Regions from separate parts of the Homo sapiens genome. Here region 2 is linked to region 1. The links are contacts of gene promoters, found by promoter capture Hi-C in blood cells and fetal thymus (Javierre and others, 2016). All regions are on one chromosome and are shown on one strand. Each heading gives the region's core, a stretch centred on a gene start or on the middle of the fragment in contact. The rest is flanking DNA. Distances are from core to core; before and after follow the strand shown.

What was found. Contacts are between HindIII fragments. The CHiCAGO score rates a contact against its expected background, and 5 or more counts as called.
Region 2: a fragment that was not itself captured here is called in contact with the fragment with the promoter of H6PD in region 1 in 1 of 17 cell types (megakaryocytes); the score reaches 5.5 in megakaryocytes.

Annotation. Positions count from the first base shown.
Region 1 is chr1:9,232,107-9,237,652 of GRCh38, reverse strand. H6PD (hexose-6-phosphate dehydrogenase/glucose 1-dehydrogenase) reads right to left here and starts at 2,879. Exons shown (of 5, transcript NM_004285.4): 1 at 2,587-2,879. RefSeq lists a silencer at 2,467-3,026. The HindIII fragment of the contact is 5,189 bases long and covers 1-3,444 here.
Region 2 is chr1:9,480,440-9,485,985 of GRCh38, reverse strand. No RefSeq gene overlaps it. Among named protein-coding and RNA genes, the nearest start is that of LINC02606, 54 kb to the right of the region's middle. RefSeq lists a silencer at 2,950-3,150. The HindIII fragment of the contact is 2,490 bases long and covers 2,273-4,762 here.

The sequences.
Region 1 (5,546 bases), core at 1,630-4,129:
GGTGTGACATGCATCACACCATTTAAATCTTGCCACAACCATATGAGGTAGGTAACATGATTATCCCCATCTTAGCAGGGAGTAGAGAGGAAACTAAGGCAAAGAGAAGTCAAATAACATGGCCAGGCGCAGTGGCTTACGCCTATAATCCCAGCACTTTGGGAGGCTGAGGCAGGAGGATCATTGGAGGTCGGGAGTTTAAAACCAGCCTGGCCAACACGGTGAAACCCCGTCTCTACTAACAATACAAAAATTAGCCAGGCGTGGTGGCAGGTGCCTGTAATCCCAGCTACTTGGGAGGCTGAGGGAGCAGAATCACTTGAACCTAGGAGGCGAACGTTGCAGTGAGCTGAGATTGCGCCCCTGGGCAACAGAGCAAGACTCCATCTCAAAAAAAAAAAAAAAAAAAAAAAAAAGAGAAGTCAAATAACTTACCAAAGGTCAAGCAGCTAGAGGTGATAGGATTTGAATACAGGCAGTCTGGTCCCAGAGCTAACCTTCCCGTAAAATGTGACTACATCCCTGAATGGCAAAATGTAAAACACTGTATTACATTTACACTGTATCAGTGTAGATACTGAACAGTGGTTTAAACCAGACAGGCTGTTTCTCTGCTCCATGAAGTCAAGCTGTTCCGAACACTAACTGCGGTAACCAGCCTCTGCCTCCCGGGTCCGCTTTGCCTTTCACAGTTCTTCCTTCTGACATCATGAAGACATCATGTATAAGCCTCAGTTGCTTTGTTGAAACGTGGAAGACCTTCAAGGGCTAGTTTTTGGAGAACTGGTTACATAAGAATATTCTGGATTCAAATCCCTGCCACTCAGTAACTATGTACCCTCAGACAAGTTATTTAACCTCTCTGTACCTCAACCACAGAATGGGAAAACAAATCGATGGGAAGCATGTAAGGTACTTAGCACAATGCCTGGCATACAGTAAGCACCCAAGAAATCCTAGCTGCTTTTTTTTTTTTTTTTTTTTAAGGAGAAGTCTAGCTTTGTCACCCAGGCTGGAGTGCAGTGGCACGATCTTGGTTCACTGCAACCTCCGTCACCGGAGGCAGGGCGGTTCAAGCGATTTTCCTGCCTTAGCCTCCCCAGCAGCTGGGATTACAGGCATCCGCTGCCCCCATGCCCAGCAAATTTTTGTATTTTTAGTAGAGACGGGGTTTCACCATGTTGGCAAGGCTGGTCTTGAACTCTTCAAGTGACCTGCCCGCCCTGGCCTCCGAAAGTGTTGGGATTACAGGCGTGAGCCACTGGGCCCGGCCAGAAATGTTAGTTTCTATCATTAAACCATTAGCTTCACGAATGAAGTCCTTCTTGCTAGCTTCTTGAACTGCTGTTAAAACCAACTAACCAGCTGGGCGCGGTGGTTCATGCCTGTAATCCCAGCACTTTGGGAGGCCGAGGTGGTGGATCACCTGAGGTCAGCAGTTCAAGACAAGCCTGGATAACATAGTGAAACCCTGTTTCTACTAAAAAATACATAAAATTAGCCGGGTGTGGTGGCACGCGCCTGTAATCCCAGCCACTCAGGAGGCTGAGGTGGAAGAATCGCTTGAACCAGGAGGAGAAGGTTGCAGTGGGCCGAGATCGCGCCATTGCACTCCAGCTTGGGCAACAACTAACCATCAACCACAGAAAAATGCCAAGGAAAAACTCAGACAGCTTTTCATGATCTTCCAATCATAATGATGAAAAATTAAAGGGATATGATGCATAATTTAAAATACGCTGTCTGGGCGTGGTGCTTCACACCTGTAATCCCAACACTTCGTAAGGCTTAAGCAGGAGGATCGCTTGAGCCCAGGAGTTCGAGACCAGCCAGGGCAACATAGTGAGACCACTGTCTCTACAAAAGGTTTAAAAATTAGCCAGGCGTGGTGGTGTGCGCCTGTGGTCCCAGCTACCCCGGAGGCTGAGGCAGGACGATGGCCTGAGCCCAAGAGGTGGAGGCTGCAGGGAACCGTGTTTGTGCCACTGTACTCCAGCCTGGGCAACCAAGCAAGACCCCATCTTTTATAAGTAAAAGATTTTTTACTTTTATATAAAAAAGTAAAAAGATAAAATAAAAAATATGCCCATTTGACACCAGTTTTCCCTCATCTGCTGCCTTTCATGAGCCATGGGCCTGTTGTGGGTGCAGGGGGAGTGGGCAAGGACACTTCTTTCCAGAAGTTCTCACTTCTGGCTAAGCATTCAAGGTTGGGTGAGCTGATTTTCAGAGATCCAGAGAGGTTTGCCCCTGGAAAACCGTTCACTAGATCCGGGTACGGGAAACGCTATGTGAAACCCGAGGGCCAATCAATGCCAAAGATTAAGCAGGTCCCGGGGGAAATCTCGGAGTTCCCCCTCTCCTGGAACTCAGTTCCGGGAAGCCCAGGGAAAGGACAGCTCGGCCGCTCGGGGCGACCCTGGAGGGAGCCTGGCCGCCTCCTGAGCAGTTCCAAAGCCGCCAGCCCCAGGCTCCGTGGGGCTGGCAGCGCAGGCTCCGGGGCTCGGCGCGGCCTCGGGCCCGGCGGCAGCGCGGGTTGGAGGCGCCGGGGCCGGGGCGGCGGCGGGGCCGGCGGGGGGCGCTTACTTCCTCTCGCGCGGCGGCGCAGGCCGCTCCTCCGGGACACGGCCGGGGCGGCGCTGAGGGCCGGGCCCGCTCCCGAGGGCTCCCCTGCGCCCTGGGCCGCACCTCCTCTTCCGCAGGGCCCGTCACTCCGACAAGTGCGCGTGTCACGCGGCCACGCGCCGCACGACACTCCGATACCGCCCGCGGAGCCCGCGGCGGCCGCAGGGGAAGGCGCGAGGCCAAGGCCAGCCCGGCCGCCACCCCGCCCCAGGCCTCAGGCCTCAGGCCTCCACCGCCTTGCGCTCAGCAAGACTGGGGCCCGGGCCGGGGGCGCGCGCGGCGGGGGCGCGCGCGGCGGGGGCGGGGGCGGGGCGGGGGCGCCGGCGAGGCCACGCCCTCCGCTGGCGGCCGCCGGGGCGGGGCCTCGGAGCTTCCGGGGCGAGGCGGTGGGTCAGCTCCGAGCCTCCGCCCCCGCCCTTCCCTTCGGCCCCCTGGTGGCCGTGCGTCCTAGAGCTGTCCTGCCGCGTCCGAGACGCGCGCGGGACCCAGAAGTGGCCGAGGGACGTGGTTGTGTCGTGGAGGGGACCCGGGGTGCTGGCTGCTCCCTACGATCTGGCACCCGCTCTGGGACTCCTCAGGCCTCGCTTTTCCCCATCTGTAGAATGAGCGGCTCGGTCTTTCCCGTCTTCAATATCCAGAGTAGGGATTTAGAAGTCGGAGCGCACACGCTGGCCACGCCTCCGCGCACAGCTTCAGATCTCTGCCACCCCTTATCACTTGTGTGACCCTGAGTTCAGTTTCTTCATCTGTACAGTGGGGACAATGGGAGTACCTGCCTCCGGGGTTGTCTGGCACTTGGGTGCTTAGTAAGCGGAAGCTTGGACCCGTGTGGCAAATAGAAGACTTTTGCTAAGACATTGCTAAGAAAGACAGCAAATGGAATCAGGGCTTCTCTGTAGGGTGAGAGGTATTTAAGTGAGAAAACGGGATCAGCTGCCTCTCAGAGCACTCAGTCCCCTTCCTGTCCCCCACCATTATCAGGCAGTAGGTGGCCCTCACCATGCTCCCCAACCTGCTCCCCACTTTTTCTTTTTTCTTTCTTTTCTTTTCTTTTTTTCTTTTTTTTTTTTTTTTTTTTTTTTGAGACAGGGTCTCGCTCTGTCACCCATGCTGGAGTGCAGTGGCGCTATCACAGCTCACTGCAGCCTCCGCCTCCCAGGCTCAAGTGATCCTCCCGCCTCAGCCTCCCAAGTAACTGGGATCACAGATGTTCGCCACCACTCCTGACTAATTTTTCAACTTTTTGTAGAGACGGGGTCTCACTTTGTTGCCCAGGCTGGTCTCGAACTCCTGGGCCCAAGTGATTCTCCCACGTTGGCCTCCCAAAGTGCTGGGAGGAGATTCTGACCTGAGAGAGAAACTGTGCTGCAGCTTTTTATTTCCCGATGGTTCCATTAGAGGTGGGAGCGTCTGGAACTAGCAGTGGCAACTTGGCAGTGGCCGGCAGGACTGAATGGGGCCAACAGGCATGATTACCACACAGGATGTTAGGCAAGGGGTTCCGGGAAGGCTGGGAACTGAGGGGAGCTGGGCCTCACCGTCACCAAGGCCAGAGGCCATCCGGGCGCCCGCAGAGGGCTGCCAAGCCTCGGCAAGGATTTAGGTCACACTGAGTGGGCCTGGCAGAGGGGGGAGCCAGGGAGCCAGGCACTCTCTGGGCTACCTCCACAGCTGGAAGTGAGCAGGAGGGCTTAGGGCAGGAGCGGGCCAGAGCAGACTCGAATGATGCCGGGACTCTTGGCCTAGAGCCCTTCCCATGTTCTGTGGCCCTGAGTGTGTCAGGCACCCACATAGCTCTGAAAACCAGGGCCCAGGAAGGCACAGATAGAAGTGGGCAGGTGTCCAGAGGCATGACCGGGGGTTCGTTTCCCAGATCTCCATGTGGCCATCAGAGGGTGATCTGCTACCTTGAGGGCTTCTTATAAATAGCCCCAGGTCAGGCGTAGTGGCTCATGCCTGTAATCACAGCACTTTGGGAGGCCGAGGCAGGTGGATCCCCTGAGGTCAGTAGTTCGAGACCAGCCTGGCCAACATGATGAAATCCCATCTCTACTAATAATACAAAAAAAAAAAAAAAAGCCAAGCGTGGTGGCGTGCCTGTAGTCCTAGCTACTCAGATGGCTGAGGCACGAGAATCGCTTGAATCCAGGATGCAGAGGTTGCAGTGAGCCAAGATCGCGCCATTGCACTCCAGCCAGGGCAACAGGGTGAAACTGTGTCAAAAAAAAAAAAAAAAAAAGCCAGGCACGGTGGCTCACGCCTGTAATCCCAGCACTTTGAGAGGCCGAGGCGGGTGGATCACCTGAGGTCGGGAGTTCGAGACCAGCCTGACCAATATGGTGAAACCATGTCTCTACTAAAACTACAAAATTAGCTGGGTGTGGTGGCGCATGCCTGTAATCCCAGCTACTCGGGAGGCTGAGGCAGGAGAATAGCTTGAACCTGGGAGGTGGAGGTTGCGGGGAGCTGAGATCGCGCCACTGCATTCCAGCCTGGGCAACAAGAGTGAAACTCGGTCTCAAAAAAAAAAAAAAAGAAAAAAAAACAAAGCCCCAAACCAAGTCAGTTGTAACCTGCTTACTAAGAAAACGTCCACCTGATTAGGTAACGTTGGGGTGGGGTCTGAGGGGGGAATTAGCCTAGGGGGTCACAATGCCCTCCCAACCCTATGTCCACTCCCACACCACCCTGAGATGTTTCATTTCTCCGCCTGTCTTTCCTCACCTTACCTTCACCTCAGTCTCATCCTGCCTCTGTACCTTCCAGTTTTCTCTGGGCAATCAGTTGCTTTGCTTTCTTTCCATCATGAAGACGATTAGGTCGTGCTAAGACCCAGTCATCCTGGTGTGAGAGTACTGCCACCCAAAACACAAAAATCGAAAACTTTGTCCCTGTGGGCCCTGGCATTGGTTTCTGCACCT
Region 2 (5,546 bases), core at 2,268-4,767, 250 kb before region 1:
CTCCTGCCTCAGCCTCCTGAGTAGCTGGGATTACAGGCGCCCGCCACCATGCCCAGCTAATTTTTGTATTTTTGGTAGAGATGGGGTTTCACCATGTTGGCTAGGCTGGTTTTGAACTCCTGACCTCAGGTGATCCACCTGCCTTGGCCTCCCAATGTGCTGGGATTACAGGCGTGAACCACTGCGCCCGGCCCCATTTGACTGGTTTCTTTTGGGACAGTTTCTTTGACTTCTCTAATTCCTCTGTCCCATGGGGTCATGATGCCTCAACACTTCTGATTTGCCCTCATGTGTACCAGTTTCAGGCCAATGGCCTCCTTTATCTATTCAGCATTCGTAGTTGAAGCCAACCTTAAGAGTGGCTGAAAACATTCCAGATCATCTGGGGTTCATGGGAAAAGTTGGGGCTGGAGATATATGTCTGGGAGTTGTCACCACGTAGATGGCGTTAGAGCCCTGAGTTGGGGAGAGTTCACTTAGGATGTGAAGGTGGGTGGAGAAAACAAGACTCTGGCCTTGAGCTCTGCGCCAGCCAATCTTAGAGGCTGAGAGACTTGGAGGAGGAGGAAGAGGAAGAGGAGAAGGGAGTGGGATGGACAGAGGATCCCAACGAGCACTTACAGAGCATTTACCACGTTCCAAGCACTGGGAGAGGGAGCTGGAGGGCCCCACGCCTGGCCCTCCAGTAGCTTCCGGGCCATTGGAGGAGGCTGAGTAACAAACCGCCACCATCAGACTTGGCAACAAGTTCATTGAGGGGTTAGTTGCTGGGGCTTGGGCAGTAAAGAGAGGTGCATCAGAACCCTACAGGGTATCCAGAGAGGGCTCCCAGAGCCTGAGACACGGGAACTGAGTCTCAGAAAACAAGTGAGTGCTGGAAAGTGAGGGGCAAGGTGATCCCGAGAGCCCACAGGAGAGGCGCAAACTGAGAATTGCAGTTGTTAGATGGGGGTCCATGCAGAGGGGCAGGGGATCCCTGATTGGCAGAGCACTGGGAGCCTTCTGTTTGGGTTTGATCCCATGGGGCTGTGGCCACAAAATCAGGGGTTAGGGGTCAGCAAACTATAGCTTGCAGGCCAAATCCCTCCTGCTGCCTGTTTTTGTACAACTTGCAAGCAAAGGACGATTTTTACTTTTTTTTTGAGACAGGGTCTCACTCTGTTGCCAGGCTGGAGTGCAGTGGCGCGATCTTGATTCACTGCAACCTCTGCTTCTTGGGCTCCAGTGATCCTCCTGCCTCAGCCTCCTGAGTAGCTGGGACTATAGGCGCACACCACCATGCTGGGCTAAATTTTTGTATTTTTAGTAGAGATGGGGTTTTGCCATGTTGGCCAGGCTGGTCTTGAATTCTTGAGCTCAAGCAACCCTCTAGCCTCAGCCTCCCAAAGTGCTGGGATTACAGGTTAAGCCACTGCGCTCGGCCAAATTTATACTTTTCTTAATGGTTGGGAAAATAAATCAAAAGAAGAACAATAGTTCATGGCTGGGCGCAGTGGCTCCTGCCTGTAATCCCAGCACTTTGGGACGCCATGGCAGACAGATCACCTGAGGTCAGGAGTTTGATACCAGCCTGGCCAACATGGCAAAACCCCATCTCTACTAAAAATACAAAAATTAGCTGGGTGTGGTGGCACATGCCTGTAATCCCAGCTACTCGGGAGGCTGAGGCAGGAGAATCGCTTGAACCCAGGAGGCGGAGGTTGTAATGAGGCGAGATCACACCACTACAGCTTGGGCAACAGAGCAAGACTCCATCTCAAAAAAAAAAAAAAAAAAAAAAGAGGAGTAGTAGTTCATGACATCTGACAATGATATGAAAATCAAATTTCAGGCCAGGTTTGGTGGCTTACACCTGTAATCCCAGCATTTTGGAATGCCAAGGTGGGCAGATCACTTGAGGTCAGGAGTTCGAGACCAGCCTGGCCAACATGGTGAAAACTCGTCTCCACTAAAGATACAAAAATTAGCTGGACATGGTGGTGGGTGCTTGTAATTCCAGCTACGCAGGGGGCTGAGGCAGGAGAAAGAGAATTGTTTGAATCTGGGAGGCGGAGATCGCAGTGAGCTGAGATCATGCCACTGCTCTCTAGCCTGGATGACAGAGTGAGACTCTGTCTCAAAGAAAAGAAAAAAGAAAATCCAATTTCAGTGTCCATATATAAGGTTTGATTGGGACAAGGCTTCATCTGTTCAGAAGCTATAGGCAGTGTGTGCTCTCCAATGGCAGAGTGGAGGATTTGCACTGAGACTGGTGAACTGCAAAGCCTAAGCTTCTCACATCGAATCCTTTAGAGAAAAATTGTGGAGGCTTTGTGACATGGTATTTTAGACACCCAGTGGTATTTTAGACACCCAGTGGCAAACAGGACAGACAGAAATTGGGGCTCTTGTGGTTTCCATCCTGGAGGGGGATGCCTCTCTCCAGCATTGCCTCTTTCTGAGGGCAGAGACCACGTGGATGGGATCGGCTCCTGGTTCTAGGATTTCTCCTGTTCCTCTTCCCAGGAGTGGAGTCAGCTGTCACAGGGAGCCGGTGACCCTTAAGGCCAGGACCTGCCGGAGCCTCCCATGTCGCTGCTCGCTCTCCAGCCCTCTGGGAGAGGTGACGTGGGCCGTGTGGGGCCAGTGCAGGGCACCCTCTCTGGCATGGCGTTTATGACGTGGTTGTAACGGGCTCCAGGCCAGGAAAAAGATGTACCTGCTCCTACAAAAGCGAGCCCTTCTCATGAGTGCACTCTCTCTCCCTGGTGGAGTAGCAGTGGGAACATCTTTTACCCAGAGCTGAATGTTATTGTTTTGTTTTTCCTTCAGGGACGAACTGTTCACTCAAGGGCAGGCACCAAACCTTGTTTTCTGGGGAGGGGAGGCCACCTCCCATGGCTCCCCTGCAGGGACTCACATGGTCCTTGGAGCTCTCCCTTGAAGGCTGTGAACAAAGACAGAGCGGTCCAGCCCGGGAGTTCATAGCTCCCTTTGGAGCCCCTTGGCTCGGCCGGCCTCTGACTTCAGGGTTGCTTGGCTGAGCAGGGTGCTCCCAGTGTGCTCCTTGGTGTGAAGATATGCCTGTGTCACTTCCCGAGTGTCCCAGCAGCTGGCTCAGGCTTGGCCACCCTTGCTCAGCTGGAGAGCCCCTCCATCAGCAGAGGCAGCCTTGTCGGTGGCTAACAGCAGGGCCTGGAGCCTGAGTGCTGGGGTACAAATGTCGCTCTGCCACTTAGCAGCAGTGTGACCCGGGCAGGCTGCTTAACCTCTCTGTGCCCTTGTATCTATAAAATGTGGTAATACTAGTGCCTGCCTCGTAAAGCCTTTATGAGAATTAAGCGACTTAGCATCTGGAACATACTTAGAACAATGCCTGTGTGCAGGCCGAAGCAGACCTGTCTAGGACACTAACCCGCTGTGTTGACTTCTGATTATCACCAGTTCCAGGAACGCCTCTGAGATTTTTATTTTGTCTACTGCTCTTGCGTAAGAACATGTACTTTCGGTAAATCCTGCCTTTAGGTCAAAATAACCTTTTGAAAAAATATATTAAAAAAATATAAATAGAGACAGGGTCTCACTATATTGCCCAGGCTGGTCTTGAACTCCTAGTCTCAAATGATCTTCCCACCTCAGCCTCCCAAAGTGCTGGGATTACAGGTATGGGCCACCACACCCAGTCCCAGAACAACCTAGACCATAAGCCCTGCCCTTAGGCAGATTCACTTGGCATGCTTACCTTTCTCTACAATTGTCTTATATATTGCTTCCCTATTGGTGTATAAGCCCTGGGTCTGGGAGGGAATGGCGTAGGGATCCATCATCTTGCCTTGCAGCCGCCTGAAATGATGGCTTCTGTTCCTAAGTCCCTATTAAATTTCCCTTCCGAAGCTGGGTACGGTGGCTCATGCCTGTAATCCCAGCACTTTGGAAAGCCGAGGCAGGTAGATCATTTGAGGTCAGGAGTTTGGGACCAGCTTGGCCAACATGGTGAGACCCCATCTCTATTAAATATACAAAAATTAGCCAGGTGTGGTGGCAGGTGCCTGTAATCCCAGCTACTTGGAAGGCTGAGGCAAGAGAATCACTTGAACTCGGGAGGGGGAAGTTGCAGTGAGTTAAGATCGCGCCACTGCACTCCAGCATGGGTGACAGCGAGACTCTGTCTCGAAGACAGAGAAAAAAAGTTCCTTTCTGAGAAATGATATATCAGCCTCTTTGTTCCACCTCTCAGCTCCCTTGGACTTTGGGGGCAGGTTTGCACAGATTTGCACACTGCAAAACAATGGTGGCACAGAATGTTCCTACGCGTTTTTGTGACATAAATAAACAGAGGGAGGTCCTCAGAGGGACCCTGGCTCTCTCCTTCTCTCTGTTCCCAGAGCACTTTATGAATTTGCTCTTCTAGCACCTGGCCGTTTTGTTATAGGGTCCAGGGTGGGCACTGCCTGAAATATCTGTGCCCCGTCCATTACCTTGCAGAGCACCTGGCTCAGTGTAGGCTCTGGGTAAATGAATGAACGAATGAGACACCCCACCTTCCCCAAATTGGTAGAAAATGTTCCTGGAAAAATGAGTCCCTGTGAAGGAAACTTTGACCATAATTTCCAAAGGAATTTCAAAGCAGAGTCCATGTTTCCAGGGTTGACCAGCACGGCTGCTGGGTCTGGCTGGGAACTTGGAGGTTGGCCAAGTGAGCCCAAAGCGAGCGTGTGGCAGGGAGGGAAGAGCAGGTGCTTGTACGACAGGATGGTGAAGGAGGCTTCCAGAGGACGAAGCTTTGGGCCAGCCAGGACCTGCCCTGCTGAGCCCAGGAGAGAGGCCAGCACCTGCTGGCACTCAGCCAGTGGTGGTTTCCCCCAGGACAGTGTGGAAAGGGAGGCTTGTTCGTTCTTTTAGGCTAAGTCTTAGGAGAGACTAGGTTATTAGAATTTTAAGGGCTGGAGCTGAATGTGGTGGCTCACACCTGTAATCCTACCATTTTGGGAGGCCAAGGCGGGTGGATCACCTGAGGTCAGGAGTTCAAGAGCAGCCTGGCCAACATGGTGAAACTCCATCTCTACTAAAAATACAAAATTAGCCCGGTGTGGTGGCTGCTGCCTGTAATCCCAGCTACTTGGGAGGCTGAGGCAGGAGAATTACATGAAGCTGGGAGACAGAGGTTGCCGTGAGCCGAGATTGCACCACTGCACTACGGCCTAAGCGATAGAGAGAGATTCTGTCTCAAAAAAAAAAAAAAAAATACTGGGCATGGTGGCTCACGCCTGTAATCCCAGCACTTTGGGAGGCTGAGGCAGGTGGATCACTTGAAGTCGAGACCAGCCTGGCCAGCATCGTGAAACCCTGTCTCTACTAAAAATACAAAAATTAGCCGGGTCGGGGGTGCATGCCTGTAATCCCAGCTACTAGGGAGGCTGAGGCAAGAGAATCACTTGAACCTGGGACGCAGAGGTTTCAGTGAGCCAAGATGGCGCCACTGCACTCCAGCCTGGGTGACAGAGAGAGACTCCATCTCAAAAAAAAAAAAAAAAAAGAATTCTAGGAGCTGGGTGTGGAGTGGAGTT